2 separate regions of the Homo sapiens genome follow, and region 1 is linked to region 2. The links are contacts of gene promoters, found by promoter capture Hi-C in blood cells and fetal thymus (Javierre and others, 2016). All regions are on one chromosome and are shown on one strand. Each heading gives the region's core, a stretch centred on a gene start or on the middle of the fragment in contact. The rest is flanking DNA. Distances are from core to core; before and after follow the strand shown. Region 1 overlaps CEP85 (centrosomal protein 85). Region 2 holds the start of CRYBG2 (crystallin beta-gamma domain containing 2).

The links. Contacts are between HindIII fragments. The CHiCAGO score rates a contact against its expected background, and 5 or more counts as called.
Region 1: a fragment that was not itself captured here is called in contact with the fragment with the promoter of CRYBG2 in region 2 in 1 of 17 cell types (naive B cells); the score reaches 5.1 in naive B cells.

The regions. Positions count from the first base shown.
Region 1 is chr1:26,248,003-26,255,390 of GRCh38, reverse strand. CEP85 (centrosomal protein 85) reads right to left here. Exons shown (of 14, transcript NM_001319944.2): 4 at 1-220. Among named protein-coding and RNA genes, the nearest start is that of CEP85, 17 kb to the right of the region's middle. The HindIII fragment of the contact is 3,570 bases long and covers 268-3,837 here.
Region 2 is chr1:26,348,350-26,355,560 of GRCh38, reverse strand. CRYBG2 (crystallin beta-gamma domain containing 2) reads left to right here and starts at 1,431. Exons shown (of 20, transcript NM_001039775.4): 1 at 1,431-1,525. RefSeq lists a silencer at 3,932-4,130 and an enhancer at 5,346-6,192. The HindIII fragment of the contact is 7,544 bases long and covers 1-4,188 here.

The sequences.
Region 1 (7,388 bases), core at 803-3,302, 100 kb after region 2:
CCTGGAGAATGTTTCATTGCACCGAGGTCTCCATTTCTTGTCATTCCCACACTTTCAGCCAACCCTGACAAAGGGAGTTTAGAGGAAGAGGGTCCAACAGGTGTAGAATTTGGCTTGGCAGGAGAGGTCCCTAAAGTAGAAGGCATCACATGGGCTGTTGGAATGGTTACGTGGCTTTTGATGGGCTGGAAAGGAGGACTGCCACTTGAGCTGCAAAAATCTGGGGAGAGAATAGTCTTCCATAAGTAAAAATTGAAGTAGCAAGCTTTCTTGAGTTTGAATGCTATGCCAGAAGCTCTCGGCCTGTCCTGAGACCAAGCAGAGAGAGCACCATCATCAAAAGTATCAGGCAGAAAGAAACGGCAACCAAACTGGGAGATGTATGTTCCAGGATCTCAAATGCCATTCACAAGGTAAACTAACAAAAGGCAATAATGACTTCACTTTTAACTTAGTCCTTTGTACTGGAATAAAAAAAATCTTGTCAGTCAACAGACAAAGCTGAAAAACTTTTAAAAAGTTTTTTAAAAAATTTAAACTTTAAAACAAATTACTTACTTAAGGAAAATGAGTTAGGTCCTACTCTTCTGGAAGCTGGACAACTCTCAGCTATAATCAAATCTAATAAAAATATCCTTTCCAAGAGTCACCAGAATCTTCTGCGACCTCCAAAAGCTCCCCCAGGAAGGTGAGCAACGAGTCCAAACTATCTGAAGAATGAAGCGAACTAGACAGTCTTGCTCAGTATGCAGGACAGGGAGTATGGCATCTGAGGCAGGATTCTGTTCTCTCTCCCATACCCCAAACCTGACTGCCTGGATATGTGAAGTTATTCTTAGTAACTCTCAGGTTTCACTCTAGCACAGTGAGCACTCTCAATTGGGTACACACTGAAATCCTCTATTTTATATTTTGCCTTTCACTTGCCCCCTTGTGTGTACCCAACTGTGTTTTTTTTTTTTTAACTTTTCCTTCAGACTGAATTTGTGTTTCCTTTGGCTCCTGCCTGGTCTTGGGAGACAACCCTTGATTAGCCCTACTATACAAGGTTCACATTTCTACCTATTTCCAACTTTCAAGTACTACTCTGAGGGGGACTACTGCAAGCAAACAATAAGGGAGGAATGTGAGGTAACATACTTATTGCTTTCAGCAGGCAGAAAACTGAATAAGGAAATAAGGAATACCAATTTCTTCTCTTTTCAACTATATTCAGTACTCGTTCCCAAATCAAGCATATCTACCACGGAGAAGAGCGACTACCAACTTGTTTCTTTTTCTCCCCAGCAACCAACACAGAGAACACTCAGATAACAACAACAAATACTATAATTGTTCCCAGAATTATGTAAGTATAGATCAGCTACGACCTTCTCATTAAACAACTTTTTTTTTTGAAATGGGGTCTCACTCTGTCACCCAGGCTGGAGCACAGTGGCGTGATCACAGTTCACTGCAGCCTCGACCTCCCCAGGCTCAGGTGATCTTCCCACCTCAGTTTTTGTATTTTTAGGAGAGATGGGGTTTCGCCATGTTGCCCAGACTGGTCTCGAACTCATGGGCTCAAGTGATCCACCTGCCTCAGCCTCCCAAAGTGCTAGGATTACAGGTGTGAGCCACCATGCCCGGCCTTAAGCAACTCTTTAAAAATATGGGCAAGCCACCTCACACCTGTCAGAATGGCTATGATGAAAAAGATGAGGCCGGGCGCAGTGGCTCATGCCTGTAATCCCCAGCACTTTGGGAGGCTGAGGAGGGGGGATCATGAGGTCAGGAGATCGAAACCATCCTGGCTAACACGGTGAAACCCTGTCTCTACTAAAAATACAAAATATTAGCCAGGTATGGTGGCACGCGCCTGTAGTCCCAGCTATTCGGGAGGCTGAGGCAGGAGGATCGCTTGAACCCAGGAGGTGGAGGTTGCAATGAGCCAGGATCGCACTACTGCACTCCAGCCTGGGCGACAGAGTGAGACTCCATCTCAAAAAAAAAAAAAAAAAGATGAAAGATAACAAGTTTGGAGAGGATGCAGAGAAAAGGGAACTCTAGTACACAGTTGGGGGGAATGTAACACAGCCACTGTGGAAAACAATGGAGTATGTAGCTCCTCAAAAAACTAAAAATAGTTACCATATGATCCAGCAATCCACTTCTGGGTATATATCCAAACGATATGAAATATGTATGTCCAAGAGATATCTACAATCCCATGTTTACTGAGTAATTATTCACAATAGCCAAGTTATAGAATCAACAGACGAACAGATAAGGAAAATGCAGTATATTACACAACGGAATACCAGCCTTATAAAAGATGTCAATTGTGTCACTTGCAACAACATGGATGAAACTGGAGGACACTAAGAGAAATAAGCCAGGCACAAAATGACAAATACTGCACGTTCTTACTTATATGTGGAAGCTAAAAAAAACCTCGACACATAGAAACAGAGAGAATAATTGTGGTTACCAGAAGCTGGGAGCAGGGGGAATCGAGAGATGCTGATCAAAGGGTAAAACATTTCGGTTAGACAGGAGGAATAAATACTTTAAAAAAAGACGTGCAAGCCTTATATTACATGCATAGTATCTAATTTGCTATACTGAAGATGATCTTGGGGATATATAAAAGGCCACACTAAAAAAACACACACACACGTAACAAAACAAAAACCTGAATAAGTTCTGATAACATGCATTAGTCTCTCAGGACCAAGAAAGAAATTTCTCAGTTAAAGGACCCAGTTTCTGATGTCTCACAACTTAAATATAGGACTAGTACACAAGGTTAAGGCAGACTGCTAGTGATAAAGACTTCAAAGACTAGTAAGCAATACAATTTTTTGTTTTATTTTTTGGAGCCGGAATTTCACTCTTGTTGCCCAGGCTGGAGTGCAATGGCGCGATCTTGGCTCACCACAACCTCCTCCTCCTGGGTTCAAGCGATTCTCCTGCCTCAGCCTCCCAAGTAGCTGGGATTAAAGGCATGCTCCACCACGCCCGGCTAATTTTGTATTTTTAGTAGAGACAGGGCTTCTCCATGCTGGTCAGGCTGGTCTTGAACTCCCAACCTCAGGTGATCCGCCCGCCTCGGCCTCCCAAAGTGCTGGGATTACAGGTGTGAGCCACTGCCCCCGGCCCAATTTTTTCTTTTTTGAGATGGGGTCTCACTCACTCTGTTGTCCAGGCTGGAGTGCAGTGGCACGATCTTGGCTCACCGCAACCTCTGCCTCCTGGGTTCAAGCGACTCTTCTGCCTCAGCCTCTCGAGTAGCTGGGATTACAGGAGCCCGCCACCATGCCTGGCTAATTTTTGTATTTTTAGTAGACGGGGTTTCACCATGTTGGCCAGGCTGGTCTTGAATTCCTAACCTCAAGTGATTCACCTGTCTCGGCCTCCCAAAGTGCTGGGATTACAGGGATGAGCCACCGTGCTTAACCATAAGCAATATGTTTTAAATCCTCCATAACAGCACCATAGTTATCAGTTCTTACCAAGGGTCACTGCTCCCACGGTGTAATTACAAAACAGAAGACTGTGAGGTTGTAGCACATGAGGGGTTGCTACCATGAACTTTGCAATACCTCCTTCCAGTCTCCATCCATAGCACCACTCTCTCTAGATTCACCAAATTCAGTTTTGAGCCCACACCCCCTGCTGTGGTTTGAAAGTGTCTGTCCCCCAAAAGTTCATGTGTTGGAAACTTAATTGCCAATGTAACAGTATTAAGAGGTGGGGGCCTCTAAGAGGTGACTGGGTCATGAGGGTAGAAGCCTCATAATAGATTAGCAGAAGTGAGTTAGTTCTCAAAGCAGTGGGTTGTTATAAAAGCAAGCTTGGGGCCGGGCATGGTGGCTCATGCCTGTAATCCCAGCACTTTGGGAGGCTGAGGTGGGCGGATCACCTGAGGTCCGGAGTTTGAGACCAGCCTGATCAACGTGGAGAAACCCTGTCTCCACTAAAAATACAAGATTAGCTGGGCGTGGTGACGCATGCCTGTAGTCCCAGCTTCTCAGGAGGCTGAGGCAGGAGAATCGCCTGAAACCGGGAGGCAGACGTTGCAGTGAGCCGAGATTGCACCATTGCACTCCAGCCTGGGCAACAAGAGCTAAACTCCACCTCAAAAAAAAAAAAAAAAACCAAGCTTGGGTTGGGCACGGTGGTTTATGCCTGTAATCCTAGCACTTTGGGAGGCAGAGGCAAGCGGATCATTTGAGGTCAGGAGTTCAAGGCCAGCCTGGCTAACATGGTGAAACCCCATCTCTACTAAAAATACAAAAATTAGCTGGGCATGATGGCGGGTGCCTGTAATCCCAGCTACTCGGGAGGCTGAGGCAGGAGAAATCACTTGAACATGGGAGGCGGAAGCTGCAGTGAGCCAAGATCCCACCACTGCACTCCAGCCTGAGTGACAGAAATAAGACTCTGTCTCAAAAAAAAAAAAAAAAAAAAAAAAAAGAAAAAAGAAAAAAAAAAGGCAAGCTTGGCTCACTCTAGTGGTCTCTGCTTTTCCACCATGTTATGATACAGCACAAAAGCCTTCGCCAGATGCTGCCACTATGCCTTTGGACTTCTCACTCTCCAGAACCCTGGGCAAAATAAACATCTTTTCTGTATAAGTTACACTGTCTCAGGTATTCTCTTACAGTAACAGAAAATACACTAAGATAACCCCAAAATAATGCCAAAACCAAAGCCAAGAAGAAAAGTACCAACTGACCCAGAAGAATATGGCTTTTCTAATTTTTTATAGATGATAAATGGACATATTAGAAAATTAAGGTGAGGTCTTTGTCCACATTTTTAACTTATCTATTGGGTTTATCTATTTATATTAAGTAAACTGCCTGATTCAGACTAACTGTGCTATGAAATGTAAAGTTACACCAGCGGTTCCCAACCTTTTTGTTACCAGGGAATCGTTTTGTGGAACACAATTTTTCCACAGACGATGGTTGGGGGGATGGTTTCAGGATGAAACTGTTCCACCTCAGATCATCAGGCATTAGATTCTCGTAAGGACTGAGCAACCTAGATCCCTCACATGCACAGTTCACAATAGGGTTCGTGCTCCTATGAGAATCTAATGTCACCACTGATCTGACAGAAGGCGCAAGCTCAGGCAGTAATGCTTGCTCGCCTGCTGCTCACCTCCAGCTGTGTGGCCTGGTTCCTAATATGCCATGGACTGGTACTGGTCCACGGGCCAGGAGTTGGGGACCTCTGAGTTACACCGTAAGTCTGGTCTGTGGTTTAGAATATTTTGAAATGAAATAGCAACACTCATTTTCAAAGGGACCTCTATCTTCTACAATTTTCAAAGGCATTCAAAATTTAGTGTATGGGAACCAGGCAGGTGGTGCATCTCTGTAGGCCCAGCTACTCAGTAGTCTAACTCAGGAGGATTACTTGAGCCCCACCGAGTTCATGGCTATAGTACACTATGATGGTACCTGTGTGAACAGTCATTGCACTCCAGTGTAGGCAACACAGTGAGATCCATCTCTTTAAAAAATACAATGCATGGGATATGTGATTTTTATTTACAGAAATCTACAGTTCCCAAAAACTTTGGGGTTTTGCCATTTTAAGAATATAGTTCTAAATCTCTCCCCTACTTAACCACATTTTATGACCCCTCCCCACCCTAAAAAACAACTCATTTTTGAGCAAACTTCCTTTCACAGTAAGGGTAGATTCAGCTATTACCAAATCTCAGTCACTTCAGTCTACACCTGAAGTGATTCAGTAGCCTGAATTACACCAGTGACTATTTCAGTCTTTTGCAAAGAGCTGAAAGCATTCTGAACTCTTCAGTACCCACCTCTACTCTGTCCCTCGAGAATCTTTCAAGGTAAAACACCTTAGTGAAGAAGGGTGGAATCAAAAGCATGCCTATTAAATTTAAAGATGCAACAATGAACTATACTGTATACCAGTCACAGGGGTTCTTGTCAACTAGACCGCAAGCTAGATTCATGAACAAAATGTGTAAGAGTTAAGATTAGAGGCCAGGAGCAGTGGCTCACGCCTATAATCCCAACACTTTGAGAGGCCAAGGTGAGTGGATCAGCTGAGGTCAGGACTTCGAGACCAGTCTGGCCAACAAGGTGAAACCCCGTCTTTACTAAAAATACAAAAATTAGCTGGGTGTGGTGGCACACGCCTGTAATCCCAACTACTCAGAAGGCTGAGGCAGAAGAATCGCTTGAACCCGGGAGGCGGAGGTTGCAGTGAGCCAAGATCATGCCACTGCACTCCAGCCTGGGTGACAGAGTGAGACTCCGTCTCAAAACAAACACACAAAAAGAGTTAAGATTAGGATCATGGTATGTAACAAACATAGCAGTTTAAAAAATGTCTAGGCCTGGGCGTGGTGGCTCACGCCTGTAATCCCAGCACTTTGAGAAGCCGAGGTGGGCAGATCGTGAGGTCAGGAGATCGAGACCATTCTGGCTAACACGGTGAAACCCCGTCTCTACTAAAAATACAAAAAATTAGCCGGGCGTAGTGGCGGGTGCCTGTAGTACCAGCTACTTGGGAGGCTGAGGCAGGAGAATGGCATTAACCCGGAAGGCGGAGCTTGCAGTGAGCCGAGATTGCCCCACTGCACTCCAGCCTGGGCAACAGAGCGAGACTCGGTCTCAAAAAAAAAAAAAAAAAAAAAAGAGTTCAAGACCCAGACTGGCCAACATGGTGAAACCCCATCTCTACTAAAAATACAAAAATTAGCCAGGCATGGTGGTACACGCCTGTAATCCCAGTTACTCGGGAGGCTGAAAGAGGAGAATCGCTTGAACCCAGGAGGTGGAGGTTACAGTGAGCCGAGATTGGGCCACTGCACTCCAGCCTGGGCGACAGAGCGACTCTGTCTCGAAAAAATAAGAAGAAGTAAAAAAAACTTCTAGACCAATATCTTTGACCCCTATCTCGAGAAGACTATTACAACTTTTAAAAAATGCACTAGAATGTAAGTTATTTTCCCAAAAGAATAAAAAAGAGAGTCACACACACAATCTGTGTAGCAATGTAACTGAATTAAATACAGCTGGTCATTTCAATGGGGGAAAAATCTAGACCACTGATTGATTTTAAAAATATCTATTATTTAATCAAAATAAAAAGGTCCTATGACTGCACATGTAGACAAAACCTTAACAAGTGAAAATTAAATTAACAGTAAGATTTTTGATTACACAATTGATAGAATATTACACAGTCAGGAGACCAGAATCTGATAACCAGCTGTATGATGTTAGGCAAGTTACTTAACTCCTTGGGGAATTTTTGTTATTCACCAATCAAAACGAGCAGAGGCAATTTTTGAAGTCCTGTGTACCTCAAAATCTATGATTCAATTCTACTCAATAGTTACTGAGCACAGTCCC
Region 2 (7,211 bases), core at 182-2,681:
CAAGGATCCCTGCTAGGCGGAATTTTGACCTCCTCTGTTGCCAAGGAAACAGCCCATCTTTTAAAACGGGTCGTTTTGGGGGCAGTGTCCATCTGGGTCTGGGGTGCTGAGCCCTCTCCTCTTATCCCCACAGCCAGGCTGGACCCCAGGGGAAGACAGCAGAAGAGGTCAGGTGTTGTCCCATTTCAGGGGAACCCTCTTCTCTGGCTCCCTTATATCCCAGGTACATCCTCCCAGGTGTTCTGTCTCAAGCTGGGAGGGTACAAGAGAGGTGGCCGCAGTCTCTCTGTTAGCTTGGAATGGGCAGAGGCCATGGGCACTTGAGGCAGGCCTTCCCACCCAGCCCTCAGCCCCAGGGCGGGGAAGCACCTCAGGACTGCAAGGAAGCTGAGATCTCCAGCCTTTGGGGGGCATGGCCGGCCAGGCCCTGGGTGCCTTGTCACCTGGGAGGGAGTGCGGCACCTGAGCGTTGGGAGCCCTCGCTGGCTTGCTGTGTGATCTCAGTCATGTCGCCGTCTTCTTTGGGCCCCACTTTCCTCTTACGTAGAATGGGAAGGGGTGAGTTAAATGCTGAAGGGCCTTCCCAGAGCTCTGTCCCTTTGTCCAGCTCTGGTGGCCTTAGCAGCCTCTCCCTAGGGCAGCTTACCTTGGTGTCAGAGCCCTGTTCAGCTTCCTTGTGACAGGGAAGATACCAGGTACCAGGGGTGCCTGGAGGGCAGGGGGAGCTGTCACTATGCCCCTGCCTCTCTCAGTGTCTATCTCTGTTTTCACCCAGGCCCAAGGCCAGAGCTGCTCAGAATGGGACATCCATGTAGGGGACCATGATGATTTCTGGATTTGGAAGCAACAAGGAATCTCGGGGGGTCCTGCTCAGTCCCTGGGGCGCCTACAGAGGCCAGCGGTGGGCAGCGCCTTCGACCTGGCCAGCCATGCCTCCCTGGGGCCTGAGAGCCTGGCCCTGGAAGTGGCCTCAGGAGAGTCTGCTCGTACCAGGCTCCCCCAATACCCAGGGCCTGCTCCTGGACATGGGGAGCAGGGATCCTCAGGCTGCACCTGTCAGCAGTCTCCACCCACAGCTTCAGAGGTCCCTCTGAGGCCTGAGCCACCCAGCAACCTGGAAGACGCACCCCTGCTGCTCCACCCTGCATCCTTCCCCAGGGCAGAGGGGACAAAGGGCAAGCCCGCCACCCCAGGGACTGCCTTGCCAGAGCCTGCCCAGACCCTACACACGCGTCCCTCTTCCAGGAGGACCCGCTACTACATCACTGTCACCCTGCTGGGGCACAGGCAAGCACCAGGGGAGGAGGGTGAAGAACCGGCCCAACCAGCTCCACACCTCTGCGGCCCTGAGGAATCTGAGGGCTGGTGGGAGCCTCCCCAGGGGCCACGCCCCATCACAGGGTGCCGGACGGCCCCGCCTCAGGAACCCCAGCTGAGAGCCCAATCGCATCAGGGGAGCACGGCCCAGCAGCAGGAGCTCCAGGCTGGCTGGACACCTGGGTCCCCACGCAGACTGTGAGTAGAGGTCGGTCTGTGTGTGGAGATGGGAGGGGAGACTGGCCTGGCTGCCCTGTCTTGAGACTTTGCCTATTCCCTGGGCCTCTCCAGCTCTAGGCCCATTCATTCAGGACCCTGAGCCGACTCTGCCTTCCCTCCCTGCTCCAACCCTGCCTTCCTCTCCCTCCCTTTGCCCACAGGCTACCTCCTGGAACCCACTGCTTCTCACCCCCACTGTCCATCTGAGAAAGGGGAAAGTCTGTCAGGGAGAGGATGGGCAGGAAGGGGGGTTGCCTTCTTCACAGCATACACCACTCCCCAGTTCTGTTCAGGAGGCCACAGACTCAGCCTGGGAATTGGCACCCAGCCTAGGTGCTGGGTGTCCTGAGGCGAGTTGCTTAACCTCTCTGGGCCTTGAGTTGTTGAGAGGATTTGGTAGCTGAAAATGAGGAAGGAGGAGGTGGCTACAGGAATATACTTTGAACTCCAGAGACTGGGGGTGCCAAAATAGCAGGGATGCTTATTAATTACGTCTCAGTGACAGCAATAATTACCCCACCTGGCTCTGAGCTGGAAGCCAAAGGAGTGGGTGTCGAGTTTCCCAAGCCTAGTTTTATTTGTGTTGAAATGACTCTCCTAAATCTGCCTGGGGGGCGCAGAGGTGGAAGGATATGTCCCCCAAAGCTCATCAAGGAGGGATGAACATGGAACCTCCCAGGGATGACCCTGAAGAGGAAATGAGCCTGGGGTGGGGTTTTGAAGGGTGCTTAAGGATGATGGGGTGGCTGTCATTTGCAATTTGTTTTCTAAGCATAATTTTATTTAATCTTCCCAACCATCCCATGAGTAGGGACTGATCCCAACCCCTGTCACCTAATTCTAGGAGGCTCTGAAAGTCACTTGCTCAAAGTCAACTAGAAAGTGAAGGGGCTAGAATCTGAACTTAGGTTTCTATAACTCCAGTGCCTGTGCTCTAACCACTGCTCCATCCTGCCTGGAAGAAACCTCTTTGGCCCTGTGCAGAGAGTGGAGGGTTGAGTGAGGTTGCTGTGTGGGCTCCAGGGTTTTCTAGGCTCCTATGGCGGTGGATTGGGCAGCATTGTAGTAGCAGAGGCAGAATCAGGAATGCTGGGGTCCTCCAAGCAGGGGTCAATGTGACTGCTTCCGTGCCAAGGAAGAGGGAGATGTAGGACCCAGGCTGGCTCTGAGACCTGCTTGGATGCCCCAGAAGTCAGGGGCTGGGGGACAAGGGCTGCAGAGAGAGGGAAGGGGGGTGGAGGAGGCTACCTTGGAGAGGGGGACGGGAAAGAGAAGTAGGGTTAGCTGGGGGGAGGTGGTTTCTATCTGCCACTACCTGGGTATTTTGGGCCCAGGTGGATAATGACAGACTCAGGTGGGAGGCTAGGGCTCACTTAGAGTGGGGGGCAGGTGACCTCCAGAAACATCATCCTTCTATGTCCCCTTCCTGGGAGAAGGTTCTCTGGGCCAAGATTGGCAAATATGGGAGTCGAGAAGAAGTGAGACATAGCTGGGACTGCCAGTGGGAATGTGTAAGATACGTGTGCATCCAAGCGTGTGTGTCCACGTTCAGGGGTAGGTGAATTTCAAGGGGAAGAGAGCTTGGGGCTGTGAATTGACTGTGTGTGTATTGTGAATGTGTGCACGTGTGTGTCACTGTGCCTGTGTTTCTGTCTGTATGTGATTTGTGTGTCTGTTGTGGCTCTGAGTGCCTGTGCGTGTTTGTATTTCTTGGGTGAGTGTATATTTGTGTGTGTGTCCCTGGTTGTGTATGTTTTTATAGGCTTCTAGGTGTATCTTTGTGCCTGTGTGATTGTGGGTCTGTGTCGGTATCTGTCTGTGTGTCTGTGCCTGCGTCTGTGTGACACAGCATGTGTTTGCCTGCATGTGGGCCTGTGGACTGGTTTGGCCTAGTTTGGGGGTGACTCACAGGTAAGTGGGGAGAATCCAGGACTTGTTGGGTTAGACAAGGCTCTTTCCCACACTCCCCCCGCCCCCTCCTCAGCCTCTCCCTTCCCAGCTCCACACGCCTTGTTTGGAGGTCACAGGTCACGCTGCCAACAAATCCACTTCTGGTCTGGGGCCCTGCAGAAGAAAGGGCTCTGGGAATGGCCCCTTCTGCTGGCCCAGGAGAGGCATCCTGGGTCATTGTATTGGGGTATGTCTTCAGAGCAAGGACAAAAGGGGGCATCTATAGGCAGGCACATTCCAGCAGAGTCTGAAGGACATTCTAGCACTCATGACTGTTCAGGGACGGGGCAGGTGAACTGTCGAGTGGTGACCTCCCTGTCCCTGGAGGTATGCAGGCAGAAGCCAATGACCACATGCTTGTGGAATGACTGGCTATCAGGGGTGTTGTCCAGGGGTTGGGCTGGTTGAGAAAGACGTTAAATTCTGATTGGTAGGAGGTCATCGACAATATCTGATCTCATGATCGGCCGCCTCCTTTAACATTGCTCTCCTGTCGCTTTCCTGATGCCTATGGCGCTTTCCAAATGTCCCTGTTTTTATGTCTAATTCCTTGGCCCCTGGCTTCTTAATATGCCACCTTTCATGAGAAAGTTGGCTCTGGTTCTGGTTGAGTCTAGCCAAGGCCTAGCACATCCCTTGATACAATTAGCACTGAATGAGTGAGTAATTGAATGAATGAATGAATGAGTTAGAGCTCAAGCTTTGCCACTTACTATAAGCACCATCAGAGACAAGGAAGCTCGGAGAGTGGAAGGCAGGTGGACAGGGGCTTAGGAGGTGCTCAGCGAGGGCGTCAAACTTCATTTGGGCAGAGTCCCAGCGAGGAGGGCAGGGGTTGCATGAGGAAAAAGGGAGCTCCCTAATGGGGACAGGGGAGTGGGCTGGGGCCTCAGTGAGAGGCTAAAATCCAGAGCCTTTGGTGTCTGGCTGTGTACTGCTCTCAGGAAGCCCTGGCCTGGGAAAATGACCAGGGCTCTACCTAACCCCTCCACCTTCCAGTCCCCCTTGGACCCTGTCCCTGACACTGTCATAGCCACCAGCAGTCCTGGAGTCAGGTCAGGCTTCCCGGGGCTTCAGTCTCTTTCATCTCTGCCCCTCATAAAGCCTGAGTCACTGCTGTGGCCACAGGGAAGGGTCAAAGTTCTGAATTCCACCAGCTTCTCAGGAAGGAGGACAATGGGAAATGGGGGAGGGGAGTGGGGGCAGTGGGTCCATTTCCTGCCCAGAGTCAGGTCTCTTGGGGAGGGGAGGGTACCTCATGGAGAAGGCCCAAAGACTCGGGCTGAACAGGCTGGCCTCTCTGGGGTTCGTGGGGCCTAAGAATAGGATTGCCCTGGTCAGTGTAGCTTGGAAGTCAGGGAGTGGGGGTGGAGACGCCCTCCAGGACTGACATGGCTCCCTGTAAATGTAAACCCCCAAACCAGAGACTCAGTTATAGGATACATATATTAGGGAGTTTGGTATGGTGAGTGAGCACTTAGGGTTGGGGTTCAAGTCTTGTTTCGGTTACTCTGTGACTTTGGACAAGTTTCTTAACCTCTCTGAGCATTTAAAAAATCTCATCTGCAAAATGGGAAGGTATGATCTAATTTATTAATAATTTATTCTTTATGAGGTCTCAAGCTCCTGGGATTCTTCTGAGGCTTCAATGGGACAATGAATCTAAAGCACTTAGCAAGGTGTTTGGCAGAGTCAGCCCTCCCCAAATGGCTGTTTTTGTTGTTGTTGCAACTAGTAAAACAGAGAAATTCACCTGAGAGTTCCTAGGGAGCTTAGTCTATTTTCTGTTGCTTATAATGGAATACCTGAACCTGGAAGCCCAAGGTCAAGGGGGTGCATCTGGTAAGAACCTTGTTGGTGATTCTCTGCAGAGTCCCGAGGGGGCTCAGAGCATCACATGGCAGTGGGGCTGAGGTGCTAGTTCAGGTGTCCCTTCCTCTTCCTATAAAACCACTGGTCCGGTCAGGCACAATGGCTCACACCTGTAATCCCAGCACTGTGGGAGGCGGAGGTGGGCAGATCTCTTAGGCTCAGGAGTTTGAGACCAGACTGGGCAACATAGTGAAACCCCAACTCTACAAAAAATACAAAAATTAGCCAGGCATAGCGGTGCAGGCTTGTAGTCCCAGCTACTCGGTGGGCTGAGGTGGGAGGACTGTTTGGGCCCAGGAGGCAGAGGTTGCAGTAAGCTGAGATTGTGCCACTGCACTCCAGCCTGGGCAACAGAGCAAAACCCTGTCTCAAAAAAAAAAAAAAAAAAAAAAAGCCTCTAGTCCTACTCCCATGATCACTCATTAATCCATTAAACCATTAATCTATTAATCCATGAGTATATTAATCCATTCATGAGGCATAGCCCTCATAACCCAATCACTGCTTAGAGGCCCCACCTCTCAATATTACCACATTGGGGATTAAGTTTCAACATGAGTTTTGGAGGGGACAAATATTCAAGCCATAGCAGAAGCTTAGAAGGTCTTCTTTGGCAGGTGTTAATATTATCCTACATTTAGTAAGGGAGGCTATGGAGACCCAGAGAGATCAAGGAAGAGTCAGAAAAGAAACAAGACCCAGGCCCCACCCCTCCAGGACGGAGGGTGAGACATGCTCTGCTGAGGATGATCACAGGAGCAGCTGGACATGCCCCAGAGCTGTGGCCTGGGGGTAGGAGGGAGGATGCCTGGATGTGAAATCAGAAGATGGGAATTTAAATCCCTGCTTGACAACCTCATAGCCGCGTCATCCTGGGCCAGTCACTCGTCTTCTCTGACCCTCGGTTTCTTAACCTTCAGTAGGGAAAAAATCACAGAGGACAGAATCGAGGGAAGAGTGCCTTGTAAAGCCCAAGTGCCCTAACGGAGCCAAGGGGCTCCATTTATTTACTTTTTTTTTAAAATTTTAATTTTGAGACAGAGTCTCGCTCTGTTGCCCAGGCTGGAGTGCAGAGGCGTGATCTCAGCTCACTGCAACCTCCGCCCCCCAGGTTCAAGCGATTCTCCTACCTCAGCTTCCCAAGTAGCTGGGATTACAGGTGCCCACCACCATGCCTGGATAATATTTTTATTTTTAGTAGAGACTAGGTTTCATCACGTTAGTCAGGCTGGTCTCGAACTCCTGACCTCAGGTGATCGGCCTGCCTCGGCCTCCCAAAGTGCTGGGATTACAGGCGTGAGCCACCGCACCCAGCCTTATTTTTGTTTTTATTAAAAACTTTTTTTAGGCCGGGCGCAGTGGCTCACGTCTATAATCCCAGCACTTTGGGAGGCCAAGGCGGGTGGATCACTTGAGGTCAGGAGTTTGAGACCAGCCTGGGCAACATAGTGAAACCCCATCTCTACTAAAAATACAAAAATTAGCTGGGCATGGTGGCACATGCCTGTAATCCCAGCTACTCGGGAGGCTGAGGCAGGAGAATCGCTTGAACCTGGGAGGAGGAGGTTGCAGTAGGCTGAGATCGTGCCACTGCACTCCAGCCTGGGCGACAGAGCGAGACTCTGTCTCAAAAAATAATGATAACTTTTCTTAGCGATAAGATCTCTCTGTCACTCAGGCTGGAGTGCAGTGACACGATCATAGCTCATTGCAGCCTGGGCTCAAGTGATCCTCCCACCTCAGCCTCCAGGGTAGCTAGGGCTACAGGCACACACCACCATGCTGGCTAATTCTTTTAATTTTTTGTAGAGACTTGTAGAGTCTTTTTATGTCACCTAGGCTGGTCTAGAACT